2 separate regions of the Homo sapiens genome follow, and region 1 is linked to region 2. The links are contacts of gene promoters, found by promoter capture Hi-C in blood cells and fetal thymus (Javierre and others, 2016). All regions are on one chromosome and are shown on one strand. The core of a region is centred on a gene start or on the middle of the fragment in contact, and the rest is flanking DNA. Distances in the headings are between cores, read along the strand shown.

Region 1 (5,442 bases), core at 1,865-4,364, 3.2 Mb before region 2:
ACTTGTAGAAATTCTTAACTGTCCAAAAGTGAAAATCTGTTTGTGTATAGTACTTAACCACAGCATAGGGAGATAAACAAGAAATATTTGAATGAATGAAAGGTGTATTTAGAGGCATTAAAATTAGGTTTCTAAGAACAATCCTAAGATCTATAAATATAGGGCAGTATGATGATACCAGATTGCTTTTCACTCATAAAAATTTGTCCATCAGGTCAGCACACTCCTCTTGTTTAGCCTCTTAGAAATCTGGGATGCTTTCAGATGGAGCTGTGGCATAGCTACATAAGCATTGATTTAGGAACCACTCCCTGCTTTCTTTTCTGCCCCACCACTAATTATATGAACTTGGACAGCTTACTTAACCTCTTTGCTCCTTGATTTTTTCGTGTAAAATAATGCCTACTTGAAAGTCTGTTGAATGAAATGAGATACTGTATGTCAAAGTGCCTAACACACTGTTGGCTTCATAGTAGGTACTCAGAAAATTATGGTGTTGTTTTCCCTTAATGGATGGGGAATTACATTTACCTACTGATAAAGCTTGATTACAACCTGACTTTCTATATGTCCATTCTTCCTAGGTGTTGTGAATAAGGAAAATGCTCTTCGTTAAGCCATATTTGTGACTTCCGATATTTCACTAATACTTTTCAATCAAGAAAACAGCATTGCTAACTTGCCTATCACTTTAAAGTGGTATTTGAAGGATTTGTGTGATACAATTATGACTTTGTAATTAGGCACCCTAAAAACCTGATCAGGCCTATTGCTTACTTTCTTTGATTCATCTGTCTTCTCTGCTGTGATCACCTTGTTCCTCCTGATATGGAAGGTATATAAGCTTTTGTAGTGTGAATTTATGTTGTGAAGCATATGAAGGCCAGAGACTATCCACTCTTATCAGTGGTTTTCAAATTGTCTTCCATGGAACCCTCATATTTGAACACATTTCTGTAAGTTTATTAAAAGCAAATGTGGTCAGTATAAAATATGTGTTCACCCCATCATCCCAGCCCCAGTCCCAGCATGCCAGGGATTGGTGTTCCATGGCATGAAAAGTAACACAGAAGGGTTCTACAAGTTGTAGAAGTTTGAAAGCCACTGTAGTAACCAGATAAACTAATGGTCCTGGTTGTTTAAAAAATGGAATTGCAAAAAGAGTTGTTTATAAACTTTAATGACCAGGACAATAAAAATCTTAATGCATTTATATGCCATTACATGTACATGTTTTATAAGGAAATATGAATAAGGTTTTTAGACCTTAATTTTCATATTTTAATATGGCAGTGAAACCAGGGTAGTGCTCCATCTGTGATGATAGCTTATATATTGTTTGCATGACTGGAACCCTTTCCATCTTGTATACATAAGAAGACTTTGATTTGGCTAAAACCATCATAGACAGTCTCCAGTTTATGAATGAATTGTGTTCTACACATGATCAGTTCTTTTTTTTTTTTTTTTTGAGACGAAGGCTCACTCTGTTGCCCAGGCTGGAGTGCAATGGCGCAATCTCAGCTTACTGCAAGCTCCACCTCCCAGGTTCACGCCATTCTCCTGTCTCAGCCTCCCGAGTAGCTGGGACTGCAGGTGCCCGCCACCACGCCCGGCTAAATTTTTGTATTTTTTAGTAGAGACGGGGTTTCACGGTGTTAGCCAGGATGGTCTTGGTCTCCTGACCTTGTGATCCACCCGCCTTGGCCTCCCAAAGTGCTGGGATTACAGGTGTGAGCCACCACGCCCGGCCAATCAGTTCTGTTTTCCCTATAGAAATTTTGTTATAAATCTGAATGGCTCTGCAGAGCCAGTACAATTGGCCTTAGTTCTGAGCCATTGGGGGTAGGATTCCTATCTTCAGTGAATGATAGGGAAGAGGATAGTTTCCTTTCCTGGGCATAGGATAGGCTCTAGGCAAAATTCTTCATAGTTGAAGACTTTTGTTTAGTTTGGTTTTGTTTCTTTCCATCTTTTTTTTTTTTTTTTTTGAGTTGGAGTCTCACTCTTGTTGCCCAGGCTGGAGTGCAATGGCGCGATCTCGGCTCACTGCAACCTCTGCTTCCCGGGTTACAGCGATTCTCTGGCTTCAGCCTCCTGAGTAGCTGGGATTACAGGTGCATGCCACCACACCCGACTAATTTTTGTATTTTTAGTAGAGACAGGGTTTCGCCATGTTGGCCAGGCTGGTCTCGAACTCCTGACCTCAGGTGATCCACCCGCCTCAGCCTCCCAAAGTGCTGGGATTACAGGCATGAGGCACTGTGCCTGGCCTAATCATACTTTAAAATGATTACTTCATTGGCATTTTTAAATAGCATATTGATATTTTGATTGTAAATGTATTGTGCAGAAGATTTGCAAAAATATTTCACAGTCCTAACACTCAGAGATAACTACTCTTAAAAATATGGGTGTGTTTCCTTTTAGTCTTTATTTCACCCTCTATATAAGTGTATAGGATATTTTAACTTCAATTTAATTTTTGATTGGTGGAATTCCAGGCATTGTATTCCAGTGAAGTGAAAACCTTTGCAGGATAGAGGGAGATATTCTAGGGGCTGAAATTTTTTATATAATTTAATCATACTTAGAAGTCCATTTCCAAATCTGTTTTCCCATGTTCTTCCCATTTTTTTGTTTTCTCTTTTGAACTCATAAATTCTCCAAAAATTCCGTGTTTCTCTTCATGGTTTCCATGGCAGTAAGAGCATGCTCTTTAATGATAGGATGTAGGAGACAAGATCAAAGGTGAATACACACACACACATCACACACACGGTTATTTCTAAGTCAGGGACTGCCTATGATTGCAAAGTCTTGTGTTTTTTTATTCTTTTCATCACTTTTGCAGAATGCATGATGTGTTTGCAGAATATGAACACACGCCTGGTTGTTGCATGCTAGGTTTGTTGGTTAGCCATCATTTACTAGCATTCTGTAGCTATGTCATATTTAACTTTTCCTTTGTTGTACATTTAAAAGATTTCTTTTGTTATTTTGTTTGCATGTTCCACTTCAGTGTTTTAAACACTAAAACTTCTTCCATATATTGCCATTATATACACTTCTTTCATGTATAAACTAGAATTCTGAACTAAGGGTTGCTTCTGGAACTTGGTTAATCATTTGACGATCTTATCCCACTAATAGGGAATAAAATACAGTGTAAAATCATCTTATTGAAAAGCCAACTTTGACATACAAATTTGTTGTTATAGTTATAAAACTGCCAATCACATCTGTGGCAGAGCCACTTCTTAACTGTAGAGAAGTGAGAAACCACAACCTCTGTATAGTCTTAGCTTTGTTAACACATACTCTCAGCCTCCAGAATGACTTGCAAGATTCTTTTAAACCTGTTTTAAACCTGTTGGTCAGTATATTGTGTTACCGCATTTGTAACCAATTTGATAACAGTTCTAATTATTCAGTGCTATATTGCCACTTCCTAGGGAAAAACATTCTATTCATTGCTTATGGGAATTTTTAAGAGGCTGAAAAATACATATATGTGGGAAACTGTATGGTCTGCTTTTGATTAATTCCTTATATTTGTGCAATATATTTTAACAGGTGTGATAAAGCGGAATTGGGAATATATATGTAGCCATGATAAAGAAAAAACGAAGATCCTAGGAGACAAAAATGTTGATCCCAAATGTGAAGACAGTGAGAACAAGTTTGACTTTTCAGTGATGTCCTATAATATACTTTCACAAGATTTACTGGAAGATAACTCTCACCTTTATAGACATTGCCGGCGGCCAGTATTACACTGGAGTTTTAGGTTTCCCAATATTCTGAAAGAAATTAAACATTTTGATGCAGACGTAAGTGCAAAATATTATTGAAATTCTTCACATAAGAAAAAGTTGGGGCCGGGCACACTGGCTCATGCTTGTAATCCCAGCACTTTGGGAGGCTGAGGCAGGTGGATCACCTGAGGTCGGTAGTTTGAGACCAGCCTGACCAACATGGAGAAACCCCGTCTCTACTAAAACATACAAAATTAGCCGGGCGTGGTGGCTCATGCCTGTAATCCCAGCTACTCAGGAGGCTGAGGCAGGAGAATCACTTGAACCTGGGAGGTCGATGTTGCAGTGAGCTGAGATTGCACCATTGCAATCCAGCCTGGGCAACAAGAGCAAAACTCTGCCTCAAAAAAAAAAAAAAAGAAAGAAAGAAAAAGTTGGGTTAAATGTTTCATTTGTGCATTTATGAACTAAATGGTTTTATCCATTTTGTTTGTGGGGTAAGAAAGGAATATGTTTAAGAATAATGATGGAATAAGTCTTAATAAGGTATAACTTTCAGAGAGGCATTTGTTAGTGGTTGCTGGTATGAATAATCATCTAACTTTTCAAAGAGGGTCCAAAAAGTTTTTAAGTATGGGTCAGTTTTGAGACAGAAACTGGCAACATATTAAGTATTCAGTAAATATTAACTTTGATTTGAAATTTCAGTAATTCATGCAAAAATGTCACCTACCTGATAGCATTCAAAGAAATCTGCCTCTTAAGACCTGAAAGATAGTACCAATGAACATGTAAAACCCGGAAAAATATCCTGACATGTAAGCTAAGAATATTTCCTTTTGGAAATAATAATTTTGAGTACTAAGGGAGCTCCATGTGATTGAGGGCCAGAGTTTTGAGATTGATCAAAATTCGGAAACATTAATTTGGTAGATCTATAACAAGAAAAACAGGTAAGTCTTTTATTTCAATTCTTATCAGGTGTGGAATTTTAGAAGCCTGCTTTTAGATATTTTAAGATAAAAGCACCAGGAAATTCATGATTGCATCTCTGTGTTCTAATTCAAGCTATTTTTTTCTTCCAAGGTACTTTGTTTGCAAGAAGTTCAAGAAGATCATTATGGAGCAGAGATCAGGCCAAGTTTGGAATCACTGGGTACAATGCAACTTTTTTTTTTTTTTTTTCTTTTTTGAGACAGGGTCTCACTCTGTCGCCCAACTGGAGTGCAGTGGCACAATCATGGCTCACTACAGCCTCAACCTACTGGGCTCAAGTAATCCTCTCATTTCGGCTTCCTGAGTAGCTGGGACTAGAGATGTGTGCCACCATGCCCGGCCAATTATTTAATTTTTTTTATAGAGACAAGGCAATGTAACTTTTAGCCAAATTTACTTTTGAAAATTCATGTGTCATTAAAGTATAACTTGCTGACAAAGATGTGTGGCATATTTTGGCTAAAAATCTTAATTTTAAAAACTTAATTTCAAAGAGGAAAAGATTGAGGTACTCACTGGAAACTTTTGTGTTGGTGTATAATTTTAATTCAAACAGAAAGATGTGTAAGAATATCTTAGTAGCTCCCTTTCCTAGGAGTTGTTCTGTCCACCTGTAGACCTATAAGCTTCTGAGCTCCAGGAGACCATTTTGTCTCGTTCATCATTATAATACCAGTGCCTGCCAGTG
Region 2 (6,129 bases), core at 3,102-5,601:
CCATTATACAGATACACATAAATATATATACATACTCATATATAATCATAAAAATGTAGTCTGAAAGGTTATATACAATGCTAAAGGTGTTTATCTCTGGGTAGCAGGGATAGAGGGTAACTATATTACCCTCTTAAATGTTTACAGTAAATATATATTATTTTTATAATGATAAAAAAATTTTCATTTTTAAAAATCCAAAAAAGCAAAGAAAAATAGAAACAAACAAAACAAACTCCTAAGTGTAAGTCAATGAATTTTTATCTCAGTAAAACTGATCAGTTAAAATACCTGGAATGATATATAATACCAGAAGGTATAAAAAAAAAATAAGGCTATAAGAAAAATAGGCATTAAAATAATGAGTAAAAAGTCACCCAGCTATATTCAGACAATGGAATGCTATTCCAGCAACTAAAAAGTAGTAAGTGACTAATACATGCACAACACAAATAAATTAGAAAAACATGAGAAGCAAAAATAGCTAGACACAAAAGGAGTCATACTGTATGATTCAATTTATATGAATTTCTAGAACAGGCAAAACTAATCTACAGTGACAGAAGGCGGGTCAGTGGCTGCCTGATGCCAAGGGTGGGGAACTGACTGCAAAAGGATAAGAAAAATTTTTGGAGGTAATGGAAATGTTCTGTATCTTGATTTGGATGTATACCTTTGTCAAAACCTGTCAGACTGTATATTTAAATTGGATACGTTTTACTGTATGTAAATGATACCTCAATGAAGGTGATTTTGAAGTTAAAGAAAAAAGTCACCTTCAAGTCTGAGTGACACAGAGTCCCTGAAGCCTTCCCTAATTTACACTGGCAGTGTTCAACCACTCTGCCTCTCTTCAACACCTTACATCTAGCTGTTCCATGCAATCGCAAATCTACTGTTTGAAATTTTTTATATATATTTATGTCTATCTTCCATCAAACTTGGTCTCCCTAAGAGAAGAACAGTAACCTCTTCAATAAATTCAGACAGTCACAAAGACAGAACTGTGTTCTCCTTCCTCTGTATTAGGAGGTCTTTCACTAGTACTGATGAAGTCCCTGAAATTACAAGCAAAAATGTTATTTCTGCCTAGCTGTGCTAAGAAGGTTCTGTGTTTCCATCAGATTCTCAAAGATACAATCAAACCCAACAAGGGTAAATCCCTATTTTGGATTCATGTCCTTTCATCCAACTCACACAGTATATAAGGTACCATGCTCATGAGATGAACTGTCTATAGTTCTGGCAAAGATGATGAGCCTATAGTAAAGACACTTACTCTCTGGACTTTCAGTAGACTCTGCAGCCATCTCTTCTTCCACACTGACATCGCTACCACCATCTTCATCGTTCATTTCTGCATCATCTACAATACTGTCTTCTTCCTCTTCCTCCTCCTCATCTTCCTCTTCTTCCTCAGAAACATTCTTTAATGTAGCAAGTAGTCTGTGGTAGCCAGAAACTTGTTGTGGTTCACTCTCTGAGTCGCTTTCAGAATCTGAAGAATCTGAACTCTCTGACTAAAAGGAAAAGGAGAATTTTAAGAACAAAAACTATATTGTTCTTATTGTTACCCTAAAACTATCATCAAGCCAACATCTATTCAACGAAGCCCAAATTCAAATTTACTTAAAATTGCTAATCTAGCTATGATTCTAGAAGCTCTTCATATGCTCCAAACTGCTACTGCCCCACTTTTAAAACATAAAACTTCAGGTTATGAGATTTAATTTATGTCCCAGGCATTAGGCCACAGGTTTAATAGAACAACAGGATAATTACAAAACAACAAAAGAAAACAGGTTTCTTTTTTTTTTTTTTTAGTTTGTTGTAATATGATAGGCCCTTTGTTCATTTTGCACTGTATTTGTGACTCCTTTATGCTAACCAAAAAAGATATTCCCTCTTAGGATTCACTAAGAGCCCTCTGATAAGCCTCTGTAACAGGGCCTAATAGGCTAGTCTCCTGGGACAATTTCAAACTGTGGCTTCTGTATTAGATATCACAATGGCATTTTTATAGACATCTGCATTTAAAATTAAGTGATACTGCCAAAATAATAGCTTGCATCTGAAATCAAAAGGAATAGAAATGTAATCAAGCTTTATTATTAGATATAATCTTAGTGGGAACAACCCAAAACCAACTATTAAAAAGAAGGTAGAAAGCATTACCAGTTGACAAATCTGTGGCTTTGCTTCCTTTCTGGAAACCCTAAAAAGAAACAGGCAATGTTACATTCTAACTACTAGTATGTAGAAATTAGGAAAAGGTCAAATGAGATGTTAAATGAAAAAGGCAGAATATAACATTATAAATACATTTTAGATATAGTCATGCAAAAATTACACATGCACTTGGGCAGGGCTGGCAAGAATATGGTTAATAACTGACAAATGAAAAGTTTAAGGAGGTCACATGACAAACCCTAGAGTCACACAAGGCTCTCATCCAAAAGAAGGATACAACTTGGCTAAATAAAAGATTTCGGGGTTCATGTTTTTCTAGCAAATTTCTTAATTAGAATGTCCCTCTAAGCTGGGAGCGGTGGCTCATATCTGGAATCCCAGCACTTTAGGAGGCCAAGGTGGGAGAATCACTTGAGCCCAGGAGTTTGAGACCAACCTGGGTAACATACGGAGACCCTGTCTCTACAAAAAAATAAGAAAAATTAGCCCGGAGTTGTGTTGTGCACCTGTAGTCTCGGCTACTGGGAAGGCTGAGGCAGGAGGACCGCTTGAGCCCAGGAGGTGGTGGCTGCAGTGAGCCAGGATTGCAGCACTGGATTCCAACCTGGGCAACGAAGTGAGACCCTGCCTCAAAAAAAAGAAAAAAGAAAAGAAAAGAAAAAAAGAATGTCCCTAACTGATGACAAAGCAGCCCAAAGTAGTGGGATGAGCATTGAGATCATAACTGCACCTAGACATTTCTAGAGAAACCACAACTACTAATACACTTAGTTCCTTATCGTAATTGCAAAGATCAATGATGTCCCAACAAATTCTTTAAAAACACACACAACATATGATGTGACTATAACTAACAATTTATTGTATATTTTCAAATGGCTAGAAGAGCGGATTTTCAATGTTCCCAACGCAAAGAATTGATGTTTGAGATGATGAATATGCTAATTACCCGGATTTGATCATTACACATTGGGTACATGTATTGTTATCAAAATATCACACTGTATCCCACAAATATGTACAATCATTTTATGTAAGTTAAAAATAATTATAAAAACAGGCCAAGCGCGGTGGTTCACGCCTGTAATTCCAGCACTTTGGGAGGCCAAGGCGGGCAGATCACCCGAGGTCAGTAGTTCGAGACCACCCTAGCTAACATGGTGAAACCCCGTCTCAACTAAAAATACAAAAAATTGATCGGGTGTGATGGCGGGCGCCTGTAATCCCAGCTACACGGGAAGCTGAGGCAGGAGAATCGCTTAAGCCCGGGAGACGGAGGTTGCAGTGAGCTGAGATCGCGCCACTGCACTCCAGCCTGGGCGACAAAGCGAGACTCTGTCTTAAAAAAAAAAAATTATATATATACATATATATATGTGTGTCTACAAAAAATTCCTAGATCTCTGACCACACAAAAATCCGCCCCCATAGCTGGGCGCGGTGGCTCACGCCTGTAATCCCAGCACTTTGGGAGGCCGAGGTGGGTGGATCACCTGAGGTCAGGAGTTCAAGACCAGCCTGGCCAACATGGTGAAACCCCATCTCTACTAAAAATACAAAAAATCAGCCGGGCTTGGTGGCGGGCGCCTGTAATCCCAGCTACACGGGAGGCTGAGGCAGGAGCATCGCTTGAACCCGGGAGGAGACAGAGGTTGCAGTGAGCCAAGATCGCGCCATTGCACTCCAGCCTGGGCGACAGAGCGAAACACCGTCTTAAAAAAAAAAAAAAAATCCTCCCCCACACAACGGGCGTGCCTCTTAGCAGGAAATTACAGGCTCAACAAAAAGGCCCGTGAAGCACTCCATCTCCCGGCGGGATGGCGCCAGAATCTCCCCGGCCGAGCACAGCGGGAGCCAGGGAATAGTGGGAAAAGGCCGGAGCAGCACTATCTGGGAGACCAGAGGACCAAACTCGAGGATACATCTCTGGCGACTGGGGAGCCCTGCCACGCCCCTTCAGACCTGTCATAGAAGGGATGCTCCTCGCCGAAATCTCGAAGATGTTTCTTCTGCTTTTTAGTTAGGGTGTTGAGTAGCTGGCTCTGGCTCCGGCTCCCGCGTTTGCCCATAGCGAAAACGTCAAGTTTGCCCACTTGCAAGAGTCGCGGTTTTCCACCAGGAAGTTGTCCAGTCAACACAAGCACGTGGGCTCGCTGACTGCGCTTTACGGCGAAAGCAAGGTGCCATAAAGCAGATCCGCTTTACGTCGCGCTCGTACGACAGGCTTAGAACATCCGGTTCCCGGTTCTGCCCCCTACCGCAGCTCTTTGAAAGCACGGGAGTTCGTTCACTAGTGTTCTCAGAGCCCTAGAACGTGGGCAGCTGGGCTTCCCGGGTTGCGTGAGTCGGGGGCATGAGCTTTGTGCTTGTGTTTTGGTTATGGAAATCAGTCTGCGTAAATGTGTAGTAGCGGAGATAGTCGAATGCAGTGACTTTACAGTATACTGCAATAAAAATATCAACCAACATTTAAGGGTGCCTGAACATCTCACTTCATCACCACAACAGTGTACAGATAGGTCTTGTTAATAAGCCTGGTGTTGCAGATAAGGAAACTGATGCTTAGAAAAGATAACACGCTAGCGGCCGGGCGCGGTGGCTCACGCCTGTAATCTCAACACTTTGGGAGGCCGAGATGGGCGGATCACCTGAGGTCAGGAGTTCGAGACCAGCATGGCCAAACATGGTGAAACCCCGTCTCTACTAAAAGTACAAAAATCAGCCGGGCGTGGTAGCGGGCGCCTGTAATCCCAGCTACTCAGGAGGTGAGGCAGGAGAATCGCTGGAACCCGGGAGGTGGAGGTTGCAATGAGCCGAGATCACTCCACTGCACTCCAGCCTACTCCAGCCTGGGCGACAAAAGCTAGACTCCATCTCGAAAAAAAAAAAAAAGAAGAAAAGAAAAGAAAAGATAACACGCTAGCAAGAGAAGAGAGAAAAACCTTAACTGATGCAACCACATGCTTTTACCCATTAGGGTCTGCCGCCTGTGTGTGTTATATCAATCATGGGGCCCACAAGTCTGAGATTCCCACCCTCACCCTATTCTCGCATTTTCTGAAAGTATTGGAAGAGTCCCCGCAAACAAATCTGTTCCAGCATTCCCCATTTAACAACAGCAGAAACACATCTAGAGAGGTAAAGTGACTTTACTGAAATCACCCCAGTCAATGCTAGAAAAGGCTGTGAAACCCAATCCAGTGTCTCATAACTGAACTCGGACAAAAGGGGATGGAAAAGCTTTTGAAGGTAAAGGAACCATCTTACATTTTGATCATGCTAGTAGTTACACCTTGTATACATAAGAAAAGTTAAACTGTACAGTTAAAATGGGTGAATTTTAATGTATTTAAATAACACCTAAATAAACAGGAAAAAGCAAAAATATAAAAGTAGACTCAGTATTCTAGGGATTTGCAAGTGTGCAGGGCTGCTTGAGACCACAGGATAAAGATGGTGAGATCCTTTTCCTAATAGTAACTTATGCTACCATGTTCTATAGAAACAGAGTGCTTAAATCATAAGCCGCAGAATTCACTTGAATATTTACGGTAAAACAGGAGCGTCCAAAATGAGAGAAATGAGAAGCAAAATAATAGCTCTGCTATTGGAGTGCTACTGTGGGAAATTTGGGTTTTCCCTGATACTGTGTCACACCATAGAAGTTGTAATAAAACCATTAGAATGCGATTCTTGTCAGTTCTAGTGACCATCTACTATTCCTAATTAGATTCGGAGAGGCTGGGGTGGGGATGGGAGGACAGGGCCGGAGAATATGAGGAACACATGCAAACAGAGCGGGTGGTGCCCAGCAGCTGGGCCAGCCAAGGAACCCATAAATAGCCATTTGTCTTCTATGTAATTTCAAGATAAAAGGTACAGTCACTTAGGTCAACAAAAGCCTGTTTGCAAGATGTCATCATATATTTTAAGGTGCTG

The links. Contacts are between HindIII fragments. The CHiCAGO score rates a contact against its expected background, and 5 or more counts as called.
Region 1: a fragment that was not itself captured here is called in contact with the fragment with the promoter of UTP25 in region 2 in 1 of 17 cell types (activated CD4 T cells); the score reaches 7.5 in activated CD4 T cells.

What each region holds. Positions count from the first base shown.
Region 1 is chr1:213,006,601-213,012,042 of GRCh38, reverse strand. ANGEL2 (angel homolog 2) reads left to right here. Exons shown (of 9, transcript NM_144567.5): 3 at 3,577-3,833; 4 at 4,845-4,914. Among named protein-coding and RNA genes, the nearest start is that of ANGEL2, 6.5 kb to the left of the region's middle. The HindIII fragment of the contact is 4,536 bases long and covers 847-5,382 here.
Region 2 is chr1:209,826,194-209,832,322 of GRCh38, reverse strand. It overlaps UTP25 (UTP25 small subunit processome component), which reads right to left and starts at 4,351. Exons shown (of 12, transcript NM_014388.7): 1 at 4,153-4,351; 2 at 2,176-2,215; 3 at 1,280-1,520. The coding sequence starts at 4,259. RefSeq lists an enhancer at 4,262-4,311. The HindIII fragment of the contact is 3,327 bases long and covers 2,106-5,432 here.